Linked DNA regions of Homo sapiens: region 1 is linked to region 2. Evidence: promoter capture Hi-C in human tissues and cell types (Jung and others, 2019). All regions are on one chromosome and are shown on one strand. The core of a region is centred on a gene start or on the middle of the fragment in contact, and the rest is flanking DNA. Distances in the headings are between cores, read along the strand shown. Region 1 overlaps CBL (Cbl proto-oncogene). Region 2 holds the start of HMBS (hydroxymethylbilane synthase).

What was found. The method cuts DNA at HindIII sites, captures the fragments that hold promoters and counts their contacts. A contact is called where the count stands out against the background at its distance.
Region 1: a fragment that was not itself captured here is called in contact with the fragment with the promoter of HMBS in region 2 in 1 of the 25 tissues and cell types used here (spleen).

The regions. Positions count from the first base shown.
Region 1 is chr11:119,245,897-119,250,574 of GRCh38, reverse strand. All of the region lies in intron 2 of CBL (Cbl proto-oncogene), which reads right to left. Among named protein-coding and RNA genes, the nearest start is that of CBL, 42 kb to the right of the region's middle. The HindIII fragment of the contact is 3,159 bases long and covers 1-2,941 here.
Region 2 is chr11:119,082,029-119,086,723 of GRCh38, reverse strand. It overlaps HMBS (hydroxymethylbilane synthase), which reads right to left and starts at 1,843. Exons shown (of 14, transcript NM_000190.4): 1 at 1,658-1,843. The coding sequence starts at 1,690. RefSeq lists enhancers at 1,566-1,615, 1,545-2,242. The HindIII fragment of the contact is 11,043 bases long and covers 1,324-4,695 here.

The DNA of each region.
Region 1 (4,678 bases), core at 113-2,612, 160 kb before region 2:
CTGCCTGGAGAGTTTTCATGTCTCAGCACTAGAAAGGGAATTCAGGCAGACTTGACGGTCACTCTGGGTTGAGAAGACAGAATTTGGGGCCTGGGAAAGCCAAGGCATCTGGAGTTCACAGTGCAAAATACAAGAGAGGAGAGAGATGCATAAAGAAAGCCCAGCTTTGAAGAGCTACAGAGGGGACCTTCTAAGTCTTCAGCTAAGCACTGATCAACACAGGAAAATACCTGAAGCTAGGGAAAGAACCACCTGAAAGGGGTAGAGGGAATAATCCCTAGATCTCACACAAGGACAAGAGAGGAAAAAAATCTTACAATTCAATGGACATCAGGGGAAATTTACCCTAGATTAAAGGTCATTTTGGTCCTGCCTCACAAGGTTTAAAAGGATCAAACTATTCCATGTAACATAGCTGTGTCCCAGAACACAGCTTAGGAGTATTTATAATATAAAAGAATCCAGTGTAGAACAAGGTAAGATTAACGATGTCTGGCATCCACTCAAAAATTGCCCAGCATGGACTGAAACAGAAAAATATGACTCTTACTGAGGATAAAAATAAACCAATAGAATTAAATCTATGAGTGACAAAGATGACAGAATTAGCAGACAAAAGCCAGGCACAGTGGCTCACATCTAAAATCCCAGCACTCTAGGAAGCTGAGTAAGGTAGGAGGATCACTTGAGCCCAGGAGTTTGAGACCAGCCTGGGCAACATAATGAGGCTGTATCTGTACAAAAAAATAAGTTAGTCTGTATGGTAGTGTGTGCCTGTATTCTCAGCAACTTGGGAAGCTTAGGTGGGAGGATCGATACTTGAGCCCAGGAGGCTGAGACTGCAGTGAGTCATGATCATACCACCTGGGAGATAAAGGGAGACCCTGTCTCAATTAAAAAAAAAAAAAGAAAGAAAGAAAGAAACTGTACCAAAATAATAGCAATATTAGTCACTTTCCTTTCCCTTTTGTTATTTGATTTCAATTCTCTATAATGTGCCCACAGCATTTTTTTTTTTTTTTTGAGACCGAGTCTCACTCTGTCACCCACGCTGGAGTGCAGTGGCGTCTCACCTCACTGCGAACCCTGCTTCCTGGGTTCAAGCGGTTCTCCTGCCTCAGCCTCCCAACTAGCTGGGATTACAGGCGTGTGCCACCATGCCCAGCTAATTTTTGTATTTCAGTAGAGATGGGGTTTTTCCATGTTGGCCAGGCTGGTCTCAAACTCCTGACTTCAAGTGTTCTGCCCTGCTTGGCCTCCCAAAGTGCTGGGATTACAGGCATGAACCTCCACGCCCAGTCGAAAATTTCATTTTTTATGAGTGAATAATATTCCACCATATGGCTATAACACATTTGCTTCACCCACTCATCTGCTGAACACTTGAACTGCTTCTACTTTTTGGCTGTTGTGAAAACTGCTGCTATGAACATGGGTGTACAAATATCTGTTCAAGTCCTTGCTTTCAATTCTTTGGGGTATGTACCTAGAAGAACTGCTAGATCCTATGGTAATTCTATGTTCAGCTTTCTAAAGAACTGCCAAACTGTTTCCCACAGTGGCTGTACCATTTTCTATTCCTATCACCAATGCATGAGGGTTTTATTCTTAAAATAATATCCACCTAACAGCTGTGAAGTGGTATCTCATTGTGGTTTTGATTTGCATTTCCTTAATGATTTAATGATGTTGAGCATCCTTTCATGAGCTTATTGGACAGCTGTATATCTTCTCTGAAGAAAAATCTATTCAAAACTTTTGAGCATTTTTGAATTGGTTTGTTTTGTTGTTGTTTTGAAGTTCTTTACATGTTCTGGATGTTGATCCCTTATCAAATATATAACTTGTAAATATTTTGACCCATTCTGTGTGCTGCCTTTTCACTTCCTTAATATGTCCTTTGATGAACAAAGTTCTTAATTTTCATGAAGTCTGATTTATCTATCTTTATGCTTTTGGTGTCATACTTAAGAAATCATTGCCTAATCCAAGATTCATGAAGATTTTCACTTATGTTTCTTCTACAAATTTTGTATTTTAGTTCTTAAATTTAGGTCTTTGATACATTTTGAGAGTTGTTTGTTTTCATTTTTTTGGCCCATCCTTCTGCAGGATTTTTATATGCAACATAAGGAAAGGATCCAACTTCATTCTTTTGAATGTGATAATTTAGTTTTCCCAGCACCATTTGTTGAAAAGACTGTTGTTTCTCCATTGAGAAGCTTGTCAAAAAAGTATCGATTGACCATATGTATGAGGGTTTATTTCTGGGCTCTCAATTCTAGTCTACTGGTCTGTATGTCTATCCTTATACCAGTACCACAATGTTTTGATTATTGCAGCTTTGCAGTAAAGCTTTGAAATCAGAAATACAAGTCTTCCAACTTTATTCTTGTTCAAGATTGTTTTGGCTATTTGAGGTCCCTTAAGATTTTTTATGACTTTTAAAATCCACTAGTCAGCTTCTGAAAAAAGTGCTACTGGAATTTTGATAGGTATTGCAATGACTGTGTATCAACATGGGGAATACTGCAACCTTAACAATTCTAAGTTATAATCCATGAACACAGAATGTCTCTCCATTTATTTAGGTCTTCTTTAGTTTCTTTCAGCAATGTTTTGTAGTTTCCAGTGTACAAGTCTTTTGCCTCCTTAATTTTATTCCTAAGTATTTTATTATTTTTGATACTACTGCAAATGGAATTTTCTTAATTTTATTTTTGGATTGTTCATTCCTTATGTATAAAACTATAATTTTTATTTGAGACGGACCCTTGCTCTGTCACCCAAGTTGAAGTGCAGTGGCATGATCTCGACTCACTGCAACCCCTGCCTGCCGGGTTTCAAGCAATTCTCCTGCCTTAGCCTCCCAAATAGCTGGGATTACAGGCCCCCATCACCACACCCAGCTAATTTTTGTATTTTTAGTAGAGACAGGGTTTCACCATGTTGGCCAGGCTAGTCTTGAACTCTTGACCTCAAGCAATCCGTCTGCCTCGGCCTCCCATAGTGCTGGGATCACAGGCGTGAGCCACCACACCCGGCAAATGATTTCTGTATATTGATCTTGTGTCCTGCAACTTTGCAGAACTCATTTATTGGCTTTAGTGTTTTCTTAATGGATTCTTTAGAATTTTCTACATACAGAATTATGTCACATGCAAATGGAAATGGCTCTTTTTCCTATCTTTTCTTAGAAGTTGCAGCAGAGCAATTAGGCTTCTTTTCTTTTCCTTGCCTAATTGCTCTGGCTGGAACGTCTAGTACCACGTTGATGAGATGTGGCAAAAGTAGGCTATCTTGTCTGCTTCATGATCTTAAAGGGAAGGCTTTCAGTCTTTCACCATCAAGTTATTAACTGTGTTTTCATGTACGGTATGGAACATCATTTTTACTTGAAAGAATGATGAATAGACTAACTATGGCTATTCAGACTTGCATAACTGGCAGAGTGTTTCTCCAAAATGAAGTGCCCTGTCACCTGATGATAAACTGGCAGTTTTCATTGTCAATAATGAAACTCAAGCTTTTAAGCAAAATTTCATTTTTCAAACTTCTATCCACAACCATCAGCAACAGCTTCCCAATACCAAACTTTTCTAATGAGATTTAATTAATGAATTTAATGTTTTGATATATATCAATATATGGAAAAATCTCTATAACCTAGTCAATCAATATTTTCCAAGTGACCAATGTGTGTTACGAAATCATGCACAAGTAAAACAATCATTCCAATTACAAGATAGCATGAATCTTAAAGTACAAAATGTTAATTGAAGCAGTTGCACACTGCAACTAACCTTTTAAGAAACTAATACTCGCCTGGGCGCACTGGCTCACACCTGTAATCCCAACACTTTGGGAGGCCGAAGTGGGTGGATCACTTGAGGTCAGGAGTTCAAGACCAGCCTGGCCAACATGGTGAAACCTCATCTCTACTAAAAATACAAAAATTAGCCAGGTGTGGTGGCACACGTCTGTAGTCCCAGCTACTCGGGAGGCTGAGGCAGGAGAATTGCTTGAACCCAGGAGGCGGAGGTTGCGGTGAGCTGAGATTGTGCCATTGCACTCCAGCCTGGGCAACAGAGCAAGACTCCCATCTCAAAAGAAAAAAGAAACTAACACTCGTTCAGTTTTGGTAAAGTATGAATACCCCTCCCCCTTTCCAACTACATATTTGTGGGTAGCTGAATTTTCTCCATAAACTTCAACCAAAATATCACACTGTAACACACTGAATGCAGCAGATATGAAACTCCAGCTGTATTCTCTTAAACTATGTATTAAAAAGATTTGTAAGGCCGGGCGCGGTGGTTCGCACCTGTAATCCCAGCACTTTGGGAGGCCGAGGCAGGCGGATCACGAGGTCAAGAGATCAAGACTATCCTGGCCAACATAGTGAAACCCTGTCTCTACTACAAGTACAAAAATTAGCTGGGCATGGTGGCGCGCGCCTGTAGTCCCAGCTACTTGGGAGACTGAGGCAGAAGAATTCCTTGAACCCAGGAGGCAGAGGCTGCAGTGAGCTGAGATCGCGCCGCTGCACTCCAGCCTGGTGACAAAGAGAGATTCCATCTCCTCAAAAAAAAAAAAAAAAAAAAAAAAAAAAAAAAAAGATTTGCAAAGAATGCGTCTGTCTTAGTTTGCTTGGGCTGCTATTAACAAAATACCAAAG
Region 2 (4,695 bases), core at 594-3,093:
ATGCCCAGCTAAAATATGTGTGTGTGTGTATATATATATATATATTTTTTTTTTTTTTCTTTTTTTGAGGGGGAGTCGCGCTCTGTCACCCAGGCTGGAGTGCAATGGCGCGGTCTCGGCTCAGTGCAACCTCCACCTCCCAGGTTCAAGCGATTCTCCTGTCTTAGCCTCCCAAGTAGCTGGGACTACAGGCGCATGCCACCACGTCGGCTAATTTTTTGTATTTTTAGTAGAAACGGGGTTTCACTGTGTTCCCTAGGCTGGTCTCGAACTCCTGAGCTCAGGCAATCCACCTGCCTCGGCCTCCCAAAGTGCTAGGATTACAGGCATGAGCCACTGTGCCCGGCCTAATTTTTATATTTTTAGTAGAGACGGGGTTTCACCATGTTGGTCGGGGTGCTATGGAGTTCTTTTGCACCCAGACATCTGGGGCCTCTATTGCCGAAGCAGGTGACAGCTTTCTGCCCTCAGACTCTGGTCTACTCCATGTGATCACTCCAATAAATTAACCCTGGGAGACCCTTTGCAAATTAGGCTAGGCTTGATATTAAACGTGGCCACCAAAATTCTGGGCCACAGGGAGCCCACAGAAAGGACTCTAAGGTCCCAGAACTACTAGGTTCAAACAATTCCTTAAGTTCATTGAATGTGCACAGCATATCCAAGTCAAACCGTTTCATTAAAAAATAAAACACTGAGCACTTCTATGTTGAAGCTATTGCTTTTGCATATTGTTGTCGTCTCAAAAATCCTATCAGGTGGACAAGACAGGCACCTTTGGGACCATGTTACAGAAGCAACGGGTGGCATCAAGGGATGAGGTGACTTGCCTAGGGTCACAGAGCTAATAACCGAAAGAGAGTTGGGGCCACAATTCAGATCTTCCTACTCCTAGTCCAGGGCTCTGGAATGACTGCAAGAGCAAAGATCCCAGCCCTCACCAACAGGCTGGACAGGGGGAGATTAGCAGCTCCCCATCTCTTTCTTATCTCGGCCTGGCAGTGGCCTCCACCAGCTCTGCAGTTTGTCTGTGCACAAGCCCAGGGCTCGGCAAGCAGGCTCGTAATGGAAAGGCCCACGGCGGCCTCCCACCCACGGTAGTAATTCAGTAGGTGTGTCACAGCTGGGGACTTGGAGCGTTGGCTGTGGCTGGGAGACCACTATAACACAAAAAGAAGGCGCACTTCTAAGACGTTTGTGTGCAGTTCGGAGGCTTGGCTGATACTCTCTCCTATGAATCAAAAGTGGAACGTGTCTTCCCAAAGGGGCCGTATCTGCATCCGCCTCAGCCCAGCCTCGAATGAAAGGACCCCGTCTGTGTAGACGAACGTTCTTGGTCTGGGTCACTAAATCTAGAGCCGTGCATCCCAGGCCTGATGGGAATCCCACCCAGATGCCCGCAGGGACCGGAGTTCCGTTCCAAACAATCCTTCCACTCTTAACCCAGTATCACCGCTCTCTGATTTCCCCATTCCTTCCGGAGGGCAACCGAGCTACTGGCCCTTTAAAAGCTACTCGGACCAAAAAAAAAAAAAAAAAAAAAAAAAAAAAGATAGCCGTTCTGACCAATAGACGACTGAGGATGGCAACCTGGGGCCAATCGCTGCACGGCTCGTCCAGAAGCCCAAAGTGTGCTGGTCACCGGCTCAGCACTCACCGCCGTTGCAGCCGCATTGCCGTTACCAGACATGGCTCCGCTTGGAAAGTAGGCTGTGTGTGGGTGCCGCTAAGGTCCCCCGGCCCCGGGAAGCCGGGGGCTCCGGCCGGCGAGTACCGGGGACACGTGGGACCCGAGGTCGTCCTACAGTCTGACTCCTGGTCTCCGCAGAGCCTCGCGTCACTTCCGGCGCCCTCCCTCGAAGGGGAGGTCCCTCCCTCTGGGCGGGAATTGGAACATTGCGACAGTGGACCTCCCCATTCGACCACCCCATTCCCCAGCTGTGACATGAGCAAGTAGTGCAGCTTCTATGGCGCTTCCTTTGCTCTGTTCAAACTTAGCTTTGCTACAACCTTGAAATAGGCAGCATTTTTCTTTTTGATACGGGGTCTCACTGTGTCCCCAGACTAGAGTGCAGCGGCATGACCACGGGTCACTGCAGCCTTGACCTCCCGGCTTCAGCGATCCCCCCACCTCAGCCTCCCAAGCAGCTGGGACTACAGGCGCACATCACCACGTGGGACTAATTTCTAGATTTTTTTATAGAGACAGCGGGGAGGTGGCCTCACTATGTTGCCCAGGCTAGTCTCGAACTCCTGGACTCAAGCAGTCATCTCGCCTTGGCCTCCCAAAGTGCTGGGATTACAGGCGTGAGCCACTGGCCCAGCCAGCATTTCAATTCTTAAAATGAGGAAACTGGTTCAGAGAGATTAAAGGTCATGCCTAAAGACAAGTAACTGAAGTGGGAGCACAAACGCTACATGTAGTGAGAAAAGGGCTTGTTAGGAAAAGTGCTTTCCCATGAACATAATTTTTTTTTTTTTTTTGAGACGGAGTTTCGCTCTTGTTGCCCAGGCTGGAATGCAATGGCACGATCTCAGCTCACTGCAACCTCCGCCTCCCGGGTTCAAGCAATTCTCCTGCCTCAGCCCCCCGAGTAGCTGGGATTACAGGCACGCACCACCACACCCAGCTAATTTTGTATTTTTGGTAGAGATGAGGTTTCTCCATGTTAGTCAGGCAGGTCTTGAACTCCTGACCTCAGGTGATTCGCCCACCTCGGCCTCCCAAAGTGCTGGGAGTACAGGCGTGAGCCACCGCGCCTGTAATCATGAACATAATTAACAATCATGATTATTAATAATCACCCAGCTAGGTGCAGTGGCTCACACCTATATTCCCAGCACTTTAGGAAGCCAAGGCAGGAGGATTGCTTGAGCCCAGGAGTTTGAGACCACCCTGGGCAACATGGTGAAAACCTCATCTCCACAAAAAATACAAAAATAGCCAGGTGTGGCGGCACACACCTGTAGTCCCAGCTATTCAGGAGGCTGAGGTGTGAGGATCGCTTGAGCCCAGGAGGTCGAGGTAGCTGTGAGCTGTGGTGGTGCCACTGCACTCTAGCCTGGATGACAGAGTGAGACGCCCATTTTTTTTTTTTTTTTTTTTTGAGATGGAGTTTCACTCTTGTTGCCCAGGCTGGAGTGCAATGGTGCAATCTCAGCTCACCGCAACCTCCACCTCCCGGGTTCAAGCAATTCTCCTGCCTCACCCTCCTGAGTAGCTAGGATTACAGGCACCTCCCACCACACCCAGCTGGTTTTTGTATTTTTAGTAGAGACGGAGTTTCACCATGTTGGTCAGGCTGGTCTTGAACTCCTGACCTCAGGTGATCCGCCCACCTCAGCCTCCCAGAGTGCTGGGAATACAAGCATGAGCCACCGCGCCCGGTGAGACCCTGTCTTAAGAAGAAAAAAAAAATCACCCATGTGCTCAGCACTGTACAAAGAACTGAACACCTATTTGATCCTTAGGCTTTCATAATAGCCACACAGCATAGGTGTTATAATCCCTAACGTACAGATGAAGACACAGGTTGAGGGGGAAAGGGTGGGAGCAGGGTGAGGGATAAGAGACTACACATTGGGTACAGTGTACACTGCTTGGGTGATGGGCACCAAATCTCAGAAATCACTACTAAAGAACTTATTCACATAGCCAAATACCAACTGTTCCCCAAAAACCCACTGAAAAAAATACATCTCAAAAAAAAAAAAAAAACATGTTGAGAAGGTAAGATGTGCCTTAAGTCAAACAGCACAACTAGGATTCAAACCCAGCTCAGTAGATGCAAAGTCTACTCATAGCATAGCAGCTACAATACTGCCACTGTTTTTTAATTTTTTACTTTTTGAGACAGGGTGTCTGTCACCCAGGCTGGAGTGCAGTGGTGTGATCAAGGCTCACTGCAGCCTCAACTTCCTGGGCTCAAGCAATCCTCCCACCTCAGCCTCCTGAGTAGCTGGGACCACAGGCAAGCGCCACCAGGCTGGGCTAGTTTATTTTTATTTCTTGCACAGACGGGGTCTCACTATGTTGCCTGGGTGGCTGGTCTTGAACTCCTGGACTCAAGCGATCCTCTCACCTCAGCCCCGCAAAGTGTTGGGATTACAGGCATGAACCACCGCGCCCAGCCCATGGCAATCCTAAATACTACCTAAACCACAGTGTCAAACTTACGTCCTCCAATTAAACAACGTAGAAGATGAAATTAGGTGAGGCTGTGGGGAAAACGACAACATAGGAGCAATTTTCAGACAGGCAGCACCACCCAAATTACACGGGGACACCTAGCAACATAAACTTTAGCTGACAATTTCAGAGAGGGAAAGGTGTTTCCAGAAAGGACCTTTTATCCCGTTTATCATCTGGTATTAAGTATAGCAAGACACCAACCTACCCATTATTTAAGGTAGGTTAAGCCCAAAGCTCCCTACCAGAATCTGCCTCCTGCTTGAATATTTTGCCCAAACTACAGCCATAGAGACCAGGAAGAGGAAAGAGTAAGAGCTGTTTTGGGGGTCTTGGTCCAGGCTGCTCCTGGAGCTCAGTCATTAGGTCTTTTGCAGAGGTTCTTCAGTAAATTGAACTGTATGCGATGCCACAGGCCCCACCCATTACCAGAACGAGACTGAGTCAACATGGTCTCCAAGAAAACCGTAGGAGGGAAGTGGAACGCCAGGAGAGCAGAGGGAAGG